Regions from separate parts of the Homo sapiens genome. Here region 1 is linked to region 2. Evidence: promoter capture Hi-C in 16 types of primary human blood cells and fetal thymus (Javierre and others, 2016). All regions are on one chromosome and are shown on one strand. The core of a region is centred on a gene start or on the middle of the fragment in contact, and the rest is flanking DNA. Distances in the headings are between cores, read along the strand shown. Region 1 overlaps KIF5A (kinesin family member 5A). Region 2 holds the start of AVIL (advillin).

Region 1 (4,345 bases), core at 440-2,939, 250 kb after region 2:
GGAGGCTGAGGTTGCAGTAAGCCAAGATCGGGCGCCACTGTACCCCAGCCTGGGCAACAAGAGAGAAACTCTGTCTCAAAAAAAAAAAAACACTGTCGCAGCCAGGTGCAGTGGCTTATGCCTGTAATGCCAGCACACTGGGAGGCTGAGGTGGGCGGATCACCTGAGGTCAGGAGTTCGAGACTAGCCTGGCTAACATGGTGAAACCCCATCTCTACTAAAAATACAAAAATAAGTGGGCCTGGTGGCAGGCACCTATAATCCCATATGCTTGGGAGGCTGAGGCAGGAGAATCACTTGAACCCAGGAGGCAGAGGTTGCAGTGAGCCAAGATCATGCCATTGCACTACAGCCTGGGTGACAGAGTGAGAATCTGTCTCCAAAAACAAAAACAAACAAACAAAAAAAACCACTGTCTCTCTACTACACAGGCTGGAGTGCAGTGGCACTATCATGGCTCACTGCAACCTCAAACTCTTGAGCTCAAGCAATTCTCCCGCCTCAGCCTCCTGAGTAGCTGGGACTACAGGTGTGTGCCACCATGCCTGACAAAAATTTTTTTTTTTTTTTAAACAAGAGACTCAGCATAGTGGCTCATGCCTGTAATTCCAGCACTTTGGGAGGCTGAGGCAGGTGGATCACCTGAGGTCAGGAATTAGAGACCAGCCTGGCCAACATGGTGAAACCCCGTCTCTACTAAAAATACTAAAATCAGCCAGGCGTGGTGGCACATGCCTGTAGTCCCAGCTACTCGGGAGCCTGACGCAGGAGAATCGTTTGAACCCAGGACAGGGAGGTTGCAGTGACCCTAGGTCGAGCCACTGCACTCCAGCCTGGGCAACAGAGTGAGACTCTGTCTCCAAAAAAAAAAAAAAAAAAAATTAGATTAAATAAGAGAGACGGGTCTTGCTATGTTGGCCAGGCTGATCTTGAACTCCTCAAGTGATCCTCCCACCTCAGCCTTCTAAAGTGTTGGGATTACAGGCATTTCTTCCAGTAAACTTTGATTTGCAAATTAAATTGCATGCACACTGACCAATGACCTTTCAAGACAGTATCTTTTCTTTTCTTCTTTTTTTTTAAAGACAGGTTCTCACTCTGTCGCCCAGGCTGGAGTGCAGTGGCGCAATCTCGGCTCACCGCAACCTCTGCCTCCCAGGTTCAAGAGATTCTCCTGCTTCAGTGTCCCAAATAGCTGGGATTACAAGCATGTGCCACCACGCCCAGTTAATTTTTTGTATTTTTAGTAGAAACGGGGTTTCACTATATTGGCCAGGCTGGTCTTGAACTCCCGGCCTCAAGTGATCCACCCACCTCAGCCTCCCAAAGTGCTGGGATTACAGGTATGAGCCACCATGCCCAGCCAAGACAGTATCTTTTCTGATCCCCTAGACTCTCCCTGGCCCCTAGGCACATCTCATTCCTCCAGGATATCCACCCTCCAACTTCAGGGTCACTGACCTATGCTCCTCCCCCACCAACATTCTCAATACACTGGCCCCACATAGGTGCCCCACACCCACTCTCACCTTGACAAATGGCACCCGGTTCTTGTCCTCGTGCACGGACAGATTTGTCTTGGTCACTGAATCAAAAGAATGCAGGGTAAGCAAGACTAGTACTTCCACCGCCCCCATCTGCACCTTGCAGTCAGCTCAGATGGTGGTTTTCTTCTCTGTGCTAAAGGAAGACTCTCCCTGTGAAGCCTAAACTCCCTGCACGAGCTGAAGGCTCAGTTCCTCCTCCTTCTCCTCCTCAGGGCTCCTGCTCCTCGGCCCCAGATCCTCTCGAACTGTTTATATGTAGTCCTTGGCTGCTAAGCTCATCTCCTGACCTTCTCAGTTTTTGGAAATTCTGGTAAACGGGGCCAAAAGACTTGGGTGCTGTGTGCCCTCTGCATCTCTTGTCAATTGGTACCTAATTCCAAATGCAATGTGAGCTTTCTTTTCTCCACCCTCCTCACACACCCTCATCCACTGGGACAAAACACTCACCATCCAGAAGGTCACGAATTTTGTCCAGGTAAATTTCAAAGTAAGAAACCTGGTTAAGAAGAAAGAAGGAGTGTGAAGTAAAGAGGGCCTATCTTAAATCTAGTTCAGGAATCCCATACTAATGTGACCTGCTCAAACGGTGGTGGGAGGAAAAGAACAGAAGAGAACATCTTGACAAAGAACTCTGGTAACCGGAAAGGGAGTCAAGTTGGGGAGCCCAGGCTCTTCAGTGGGAAGATTTTAGATCTTCCCCTCCCAGTCCCCATCTGAATGCCCAGCTGTCGTGCCCTGGTCACCTTGATGTGGAACTCAAGGTTCTCATCCATGGAGTAGATGTGGTTGAAGATGTCTCGGGCAATTCGAGGAATGATTCCCATCAGCTGAGGGTCGTGCAGCTTTCCCTGGCGAGTGAAGGTATTTGAGAGTGAAGCTGGGGCTCAGGGAGAATGAGACAACTCAGATGTATGCAGGTGAACACCAAGGCAAGAGTCAATAAGAAGAACATCCTAAGTTAGGAGATGGTCACCACCATGTCTGCCTTTTAGAGGAGCAAGGAGATAATTGAGTAGCCCTTTGGACTTCCATTGCTTTTCCCGATCAAAAGAAGACTGGAGTAGTGGAAAGGATGATCCACTGCAGTGGGTTGGAGGGATTCCATTAAACTTCCCCTAATATTGCCCTTCAGTTCATCCTCTGTACTCATCTATCTGCCTCTGGACCAGGCAATCCTTGATTCCTAGACCTTCCCCCACTGAGATTCCCTGATCTTCCATTAACACTCCTAGCCCCTCAACCACCAAAGCCAGAACCCTCACCTCCATGGTATGTGTTTTCCCTGAGGATGTCTGTCCATAAGCAAAAATGGTGCCATTGTAGCCAGCAAGGACATCTGGAAGAGACAGTAGAGAAAGAGTACTGGTGGAGATAGGTCGGGTAGGAAATGGGGTGCTGAGAAGAGACATTCTAAAAAGAAATCTATTACCTTTGACAATCTGCATGGCACATGCATGATAAACTTGCTCTTGAGTCGTGTTTGGGGGGAATACACGGTCAAAAACATATGGCTTCCCCTGGAATGAAAATAAAAGATATCAGACGTCAACAGGCAGGATGTGAGGGAAAAGAAATACCACAACCTCCTTCCAGCAGCTGAGAAAGGCACCCTTTTCTTCAATGCCCTTAATGAACAGAAATGTGGGAGAATGGCCGGGCGTGGTGGCTCACACCTGTAATCCCATCATTTTAAGAGGCTGAGGCAGGCGGATCACGAGGTCAGGAGTTCAAGACCAGCCTGACCAATATGGTGAAACCCCGTCTCTACTAAAAATACAAAAATTAGCCTGGTGTGGTGGCACGTGCCTGTAGTCCCAGCTACTCGGGAGGCAGAGACAGGAGAATCGCTTGAACCCGAGAGGCAGAGGTTGCAGTGAGCCGAGATTGCGCCACTGCACTCCAGCCTGGCGATAGAGCGAGACTCCATCTCAAAAAAAAAAAGAAGAAGAAAAGAAAAGAAATGTGGGAGAATAAGAGAAACTAAAGGTACTGATGCCAGGAGTTGTGTCTGTGGGGTAGAGGAGTGTCGCACAGTGAGATTGTGTTAGGGGATCTTAGTCGTGGTGTGATGATTGAGCACTCCACTACCCCAAACTCCTCCCTGGGAAACCAGATGAAAAAAGACAATAGGGCCACAGGTGATGAAAATTGAAGAACAATTCATTAACACTAAAAAGTATCTCAAGCTAGAAATATCTTCCTCAACAGATCCACGTACCCTGATATGGAAAGATCTTTAGATGTACTAAGTGAAAGATGCAAAGTTAGTGACATATATTTATAGCATGTTCCCTACCATGTAAATGAAATTCAGTCTACACTGAGAGCCTCTGTGGAAACATTAACACAAGCTCTCTCTCTTTGTGAAAGGAATATATGAAATCAGATATGTGGGTCTCCCTTTAAGAACAGAACAAGCTTTAATTAAAGAAGAACTGTGGGTCGGGCACGGTGGCTCAAGCCTGTAATCCCAGCACTTTGGGAGGCCAAGGCAGGCAGATCACCTGAGGTGAGGAGTTCGAGACCAGCCTGGCCAACATGCTGAAACCCCATCTCTACTAAAAATACAAAAATTAGCTGGGCGTGGTGGCAGGCACCTGTAATCCCAGCTACGCCGGAGGCTGAGGCAGGAGAATCGCTTGAACCCAGGAGGCGGAGGTTGCAGTGAGCCAAGATTGCGCCACTGCACTCCAGCCTGGGGGACAAGAGCAAGACTTCGTCTCAAAAAAAAAGAACTGTGAAGCAAATCATTCAGACTTACAAATCCTTGTTTAATTCAGGAATATGTTGTAAATCAC
Region 2 (4,307 bases), core at 711-3,210:
ATTTGCCTTCAGTTAACATGGGACCTTCTGTTTAGCTTCCTCTTGCTTCCCAAAGATTTTAAGCATTTTGTAAATGTATAAACTCACCTCTGGTAACAGTGGCCCAGACGCTGCTTTGTGCTAAAAGCATGGGAAATGTAAAGGCAGTCTTTCTCTGGGAAATGGATGCTATTCTATTCTGCTGCCCCTACCTGTTCCTGAGGCCTCATTTAGAAAGAAAATCCCCTCAGAAGGCTGTCTGGCACCCAGTGTCCTAGCCAGGCCAAGTATATGAGAAAGGTAAGTCCATTTTCCCCTTCAGGTCCTCAGTGGATTACTTAACCACTGCTGTCCCTCGGTCCCTTTTTCCTAAACGGGTTTAGTTCTGTCTTTTTTCTCCTTTTTTCTAAATGCTGGTAAATATTTACATTCAGCCAGGGAAGAGGAGGCCAGAGGTCGGGCCAGCTGCCCCATTCTTTTAACGTTGTAGGGCCTGCCCATGGAGCGGACCCTCCTCTTTGGGCCTCGTGAGCTTTTTTGCTTATCATGTTCCATTTCGTGCCGCTTTCCCCCTTCAAGATGCCATTTGGAGGGTAGGGGATCTGCTTCCCACTGTGACTGGGCTATGGGATTCTGACTACCTTGCTTACAGATTCATGGTTTGATAAATTTGTTGTATTCAAAAACTTGAAATGCAGGACGCCATTAAGTGTCTGTTTATATTTTTGGAATATTTGTATTACTTACAATTAATTAATAAAAGTGGGTTTAAAAAACCTTTCCAGGAATGTGAGCTGCCACCAACCTTCATTGGCCCTTAAGTGTTCACTGGGCCCATGGCAAGCACCGCCTTTCTTCTCGCAACCCCTTCCATCATGAAGCAGCTGCACCCCCGGGCTGAGTGGGGTGTTGCACCCACCGGGAGGCCAGCTGCAGATGCCACACAGGGCTTCCGCTCAAGGTTACACAAGTTCTGCTGTGATCAACCCCATTGCAGTCAGGTGCTTAGCACGTGTATATGCTTGATGTCCTATTGACTTCTGGGCATGAACCAGAAGCCCTAAGGGAATGGATTATTATTTTTTTTTTTTTTTTTGAAATGGAGTCTTGCTCTGTTGCCCAGGCTAGAGGCAGTGGCATGATCTCAGCTCACTGCAACCTCCACCTCCCAGGTTCAAGCGATTCTCCTGCCTCAGTCTCCTGAGTAGCTGGGATTACAGGCGCCTGCCAGCACGCCCGGCTCATTTTTGTATTTTTAGTAGAGATGGGGTTTCACCATCTTGGCCAGGCTGTTTTCAAACTCCTCACATTGTGATCCACCCACCTCAGCCTCCCAAAGTGCTGGGATTACAGGCGTGAGCCACCACCACACCCAGCCCTGGGAATGGAGTCTTGATTCTTCTCTGCCCCTCACTGATTCTTCCAAACTGGAAACCCTGAAGCTGAGAGCCCAGCATGGTTCCTGGCAAACAGCAGGCACTCAAATATTGATTGGTTTACTGTATGACTAGTAGAGACCCCAACGAGCAAAACTGTGGCCTAATAAAATTCTGGCTCCTCTCCCAGACTTCCCCTCCCTTTGAGAAATGCCAGAAGCTTCTTAGGGAGGCTCTTGCCAACCTAGACATCACAGGCACTCATGGGGCAGCTCCAGCCTCTTCCTCCTGTCATCACCATAATGCATCCATATCTACAATATGGCAAATTTCATATCCTTCCAACCTCTTTCCTGCATTATTGATGGGCTGTGTGCACTTTTTAAAAAATCAATTAGATCAGGGCGTGGAGCTGGAGTTCAAAGAAGCCTTTAAAAGTCTGCTCTTCTGTTTTGCTGTTTTGAATAGGCACAGATAAAGCTTTCCCTCTGGTTTGAATAAGCCAAGCTCAGTGCTAGGTTGGCTCTGATTGGCCAGGACTAGGAAAATGCGGTTAAGATGCAAACACAAGCAAATATAACCCAGTATCTCTGCGGCCATTACTAAGCTAAGGCAGCAGGACCTGGAGCCTCCTGCTTTGGAGTGGTTCTTCAATACTGCTGCTGCTTACGCGCCGGGAAACTGGGAAGGCTGGTGAGCGAGAAGGCAAGGTAAGGTCTCTGATTTACGGGGGCATGCCAGTTAATCCTCCTGAATGAGGAAGAAATGAAAGGAAGAGGAGCTTGAGAGTCCCTTGGCTTTGTCTTCTGAGATGAGGCTTTTAAAATGAACCAGGAGTCTGGCTGGCCAGTTTTGCAAACTTCTTGTTCAGAAGAACCCCTTAGAGGCAGCTGAACATATAGGGCACATTTTCAAAAGCTGGGAAAGACAGACCCCTTTCACCTATCCCTAGAGAAAGATGGTATGGAGCAAGGCAGGAGGAGTTAAAACCAGCTTCCTGGCCCAGAGAGGTGGCTTACACCTGTAATCCCAACACTTTGGGAAGCCAGGGCATGAGGATTGTTTGAGCCCAGGAGTTTGTAACTTGTGACCATCCTGGGCAACATAGTGAGACCCTGTCTCTACAAAAAAAAAAAAAAAAAAAAAAAAAAAAAAAGCCAAGCATGGTGGTGCACACCTGTGGTCTCAGCTTCTCAGGAGGCTGAGGCAGAAGGATCACTTGAGCCCAGGAGGTGGCGGTTGCAGTGAGCCGTGATTGTACCACTGCACTCCAGCCTGGGTGACAGAGCAAGACCCTGTCTCAAAAACAACAACAACAAAAAACAGCTTCCTCTGCTCAGGGTCCGTCCAAAAGGGCATCTCTGAGAATTACAGGCCACTGGCTTTTAACCTGACATTTCAAAACTGTGCCCCACACCCAAGGGGTTTCTGCAGTCCTCTCAAAGGATACTGAATTAGGATTTAGGGAGAAGGAGAGACCCAGCTTTGGGAGATTTGATGTCAGAACTGTGTTTTCTGTGTGTTCCAGTGTGACAGGAAGTCCCTTCCTGGAGCTTATCCTCTCGCATTCGGGGTGCCTGGCCCAGGGAGCTCCTTGATTCCTAAATTCCTGCTGGGAAACGGGACAGGTTTCAGCCTCTGAGGCTCACAGTCCTAATTGCTGCCGGCTGGTTTGGCTTTTACCAGGGTGACAGTTCTCTGTCTCCAAGGAATGAATTCAGTGGCCCTTGTCCCCTTCCCCTAGTTGGCTCATGGCTTTTGCCTTTAATGACTGCTACGTAGGGTCTGAAGAAAACCCAAACACCATATTTCCTGGCAATTCTGAGCAGCACAGGGTGGGGCAGCACAAGTTATCAAATTAAATTCTCAAACACTGGCTGCTCCGCACCATTGCCTTGCTTTAGTCCTGCTACAGCAGTAGACAAAGCGAGTCTGCTTTGAGCTTTATGGTTTTTTGCCAAAGTCCATACTAGATGGCGCATGCTCTCCAAACTTGGCTTTGTCCATCAAGGTTCAAGAAAACAATGGTCAGACATGTTCCTCTTAACAAACAGTATGTCCCCAAACAGCAAAAATGCATACAGTCCTTTCTGGGTGAATTTTTAAATCTTACATAAATCCATCAACCCCATCCTTTTTCCTTTGCCTCTTGGGAGAAATTAATCTAGCTTTACATTAATTATGCATGTTATCAGATTTCAAGCTCCTTGAGAGCAGGTATTTTAATTCTATAAAGCCTCTACGTGGCCTTGGACATGGGTAGGTGCTTAATTACCCAAGATGCTCCTTGAATACAGATGGTACACGACCTACACAGACTTAGATCTTTACCACTTCCCCCCTCTCCCCACCCTGACTTGCTCAATCCTGAAGGAACTGGAGACGTCTAAGTGTCTGAGGTTCACGCTTCCACACAGAAGCTTGGGTCTGTGTGGGAGGGAAAAAGGAAGCCATCTGTCCGCAGGCCAGACCAGGCCACACCCTGCTAGCACCCAGAACCCTTTGTCCCAGGCCCAGCCCTGCCATTTTACTTTCCTTGCATCTGGAAAGCACAGGGAATATAGTAGTGACAAAAGAAGGAAGGGTTGTTTGAGTTTAAGAATAGTTTACTCTAAAAAAAAAAAAAAAAAAAAAAAAAGGACAAAAGCCAAAGAGAAGGTCAAAGTTGACTGTGGAGAAGGCCTTGCAAGCAGGGAACTTGGGAAGAATTGGAATGAGAGTGAGAGAAGGCAACTGAGTTTGGAAATATTTTTTCTGACTAGCTTTTCTTTCCAAATGCCACTGAACTTAGATTGGTTTAGGAAGGGTTGTAGTACATCAAAGTGGCTAGAAGCACAGGTTTGGGGATCAGATAAGGATTTCATTCTAGAGTGTGATCTTGTACAAGTTATTCAGCCTTTGCAAACCTCAGATTCACACAATGTAAGATGAAGAAACTCACCTTCTGAAAAT

Evidence for each region. The method cuts DNA at HindIII sites, captures the fragments that hold promoters and counts their contacts. A CHiCAGO score of 5 or more calls a contact.
Region 1: a contact is called between a fragment that was not itself captured here and the fragment with the promoter of AVIL in region 2, in 5 of 17 cell types (naive CD8 T cells, M0 macrophages, naive CD4 T cells and 2 more). The highest score is 6.1, in naive CD8 T cells.

Annotation. Positions count from the first base shown.
Region 1 is chr12:57,562,158-57,566,502 of GRCh38, reverse strand. KIF5A (kinesin family member 5A) reads right to left here. Exons shown (of 29, transcript NM_004984.4): 2 at 2,977-3,064; 3 at 2,810-2,883; 4 at 2,291-2,395; 5 at 1,995-2,043; 6 at 1,530-1,585. Among named protein-coding and RNA genes, the nearest start is that of KIF5A, 14 kb to the right of the region's middle. RefSeq lists silencers at 3,214-3,431, 4,125-4,291. The HindIII fragment of the contact is 4,556 bases long and covers 1-3,967 here.
Region 2 is chr12:57,816,387-57,820,693 of GRCh38, reverse strand. It overlaps AVIL (advillin), which reads left to right and starts at 1,960. Exons shown (of 20, transcript NM_006576.4): 1 at 1,960-2,065. It overlaps CTDSP2 (CTD small phosphatase 2), which reads left to right. Exons shown (of 8, transcript NM_005730.4): 8 at 1-767. The HindIII fragment of the contact is 1,940 bases long and covers 1,838-3,777 here.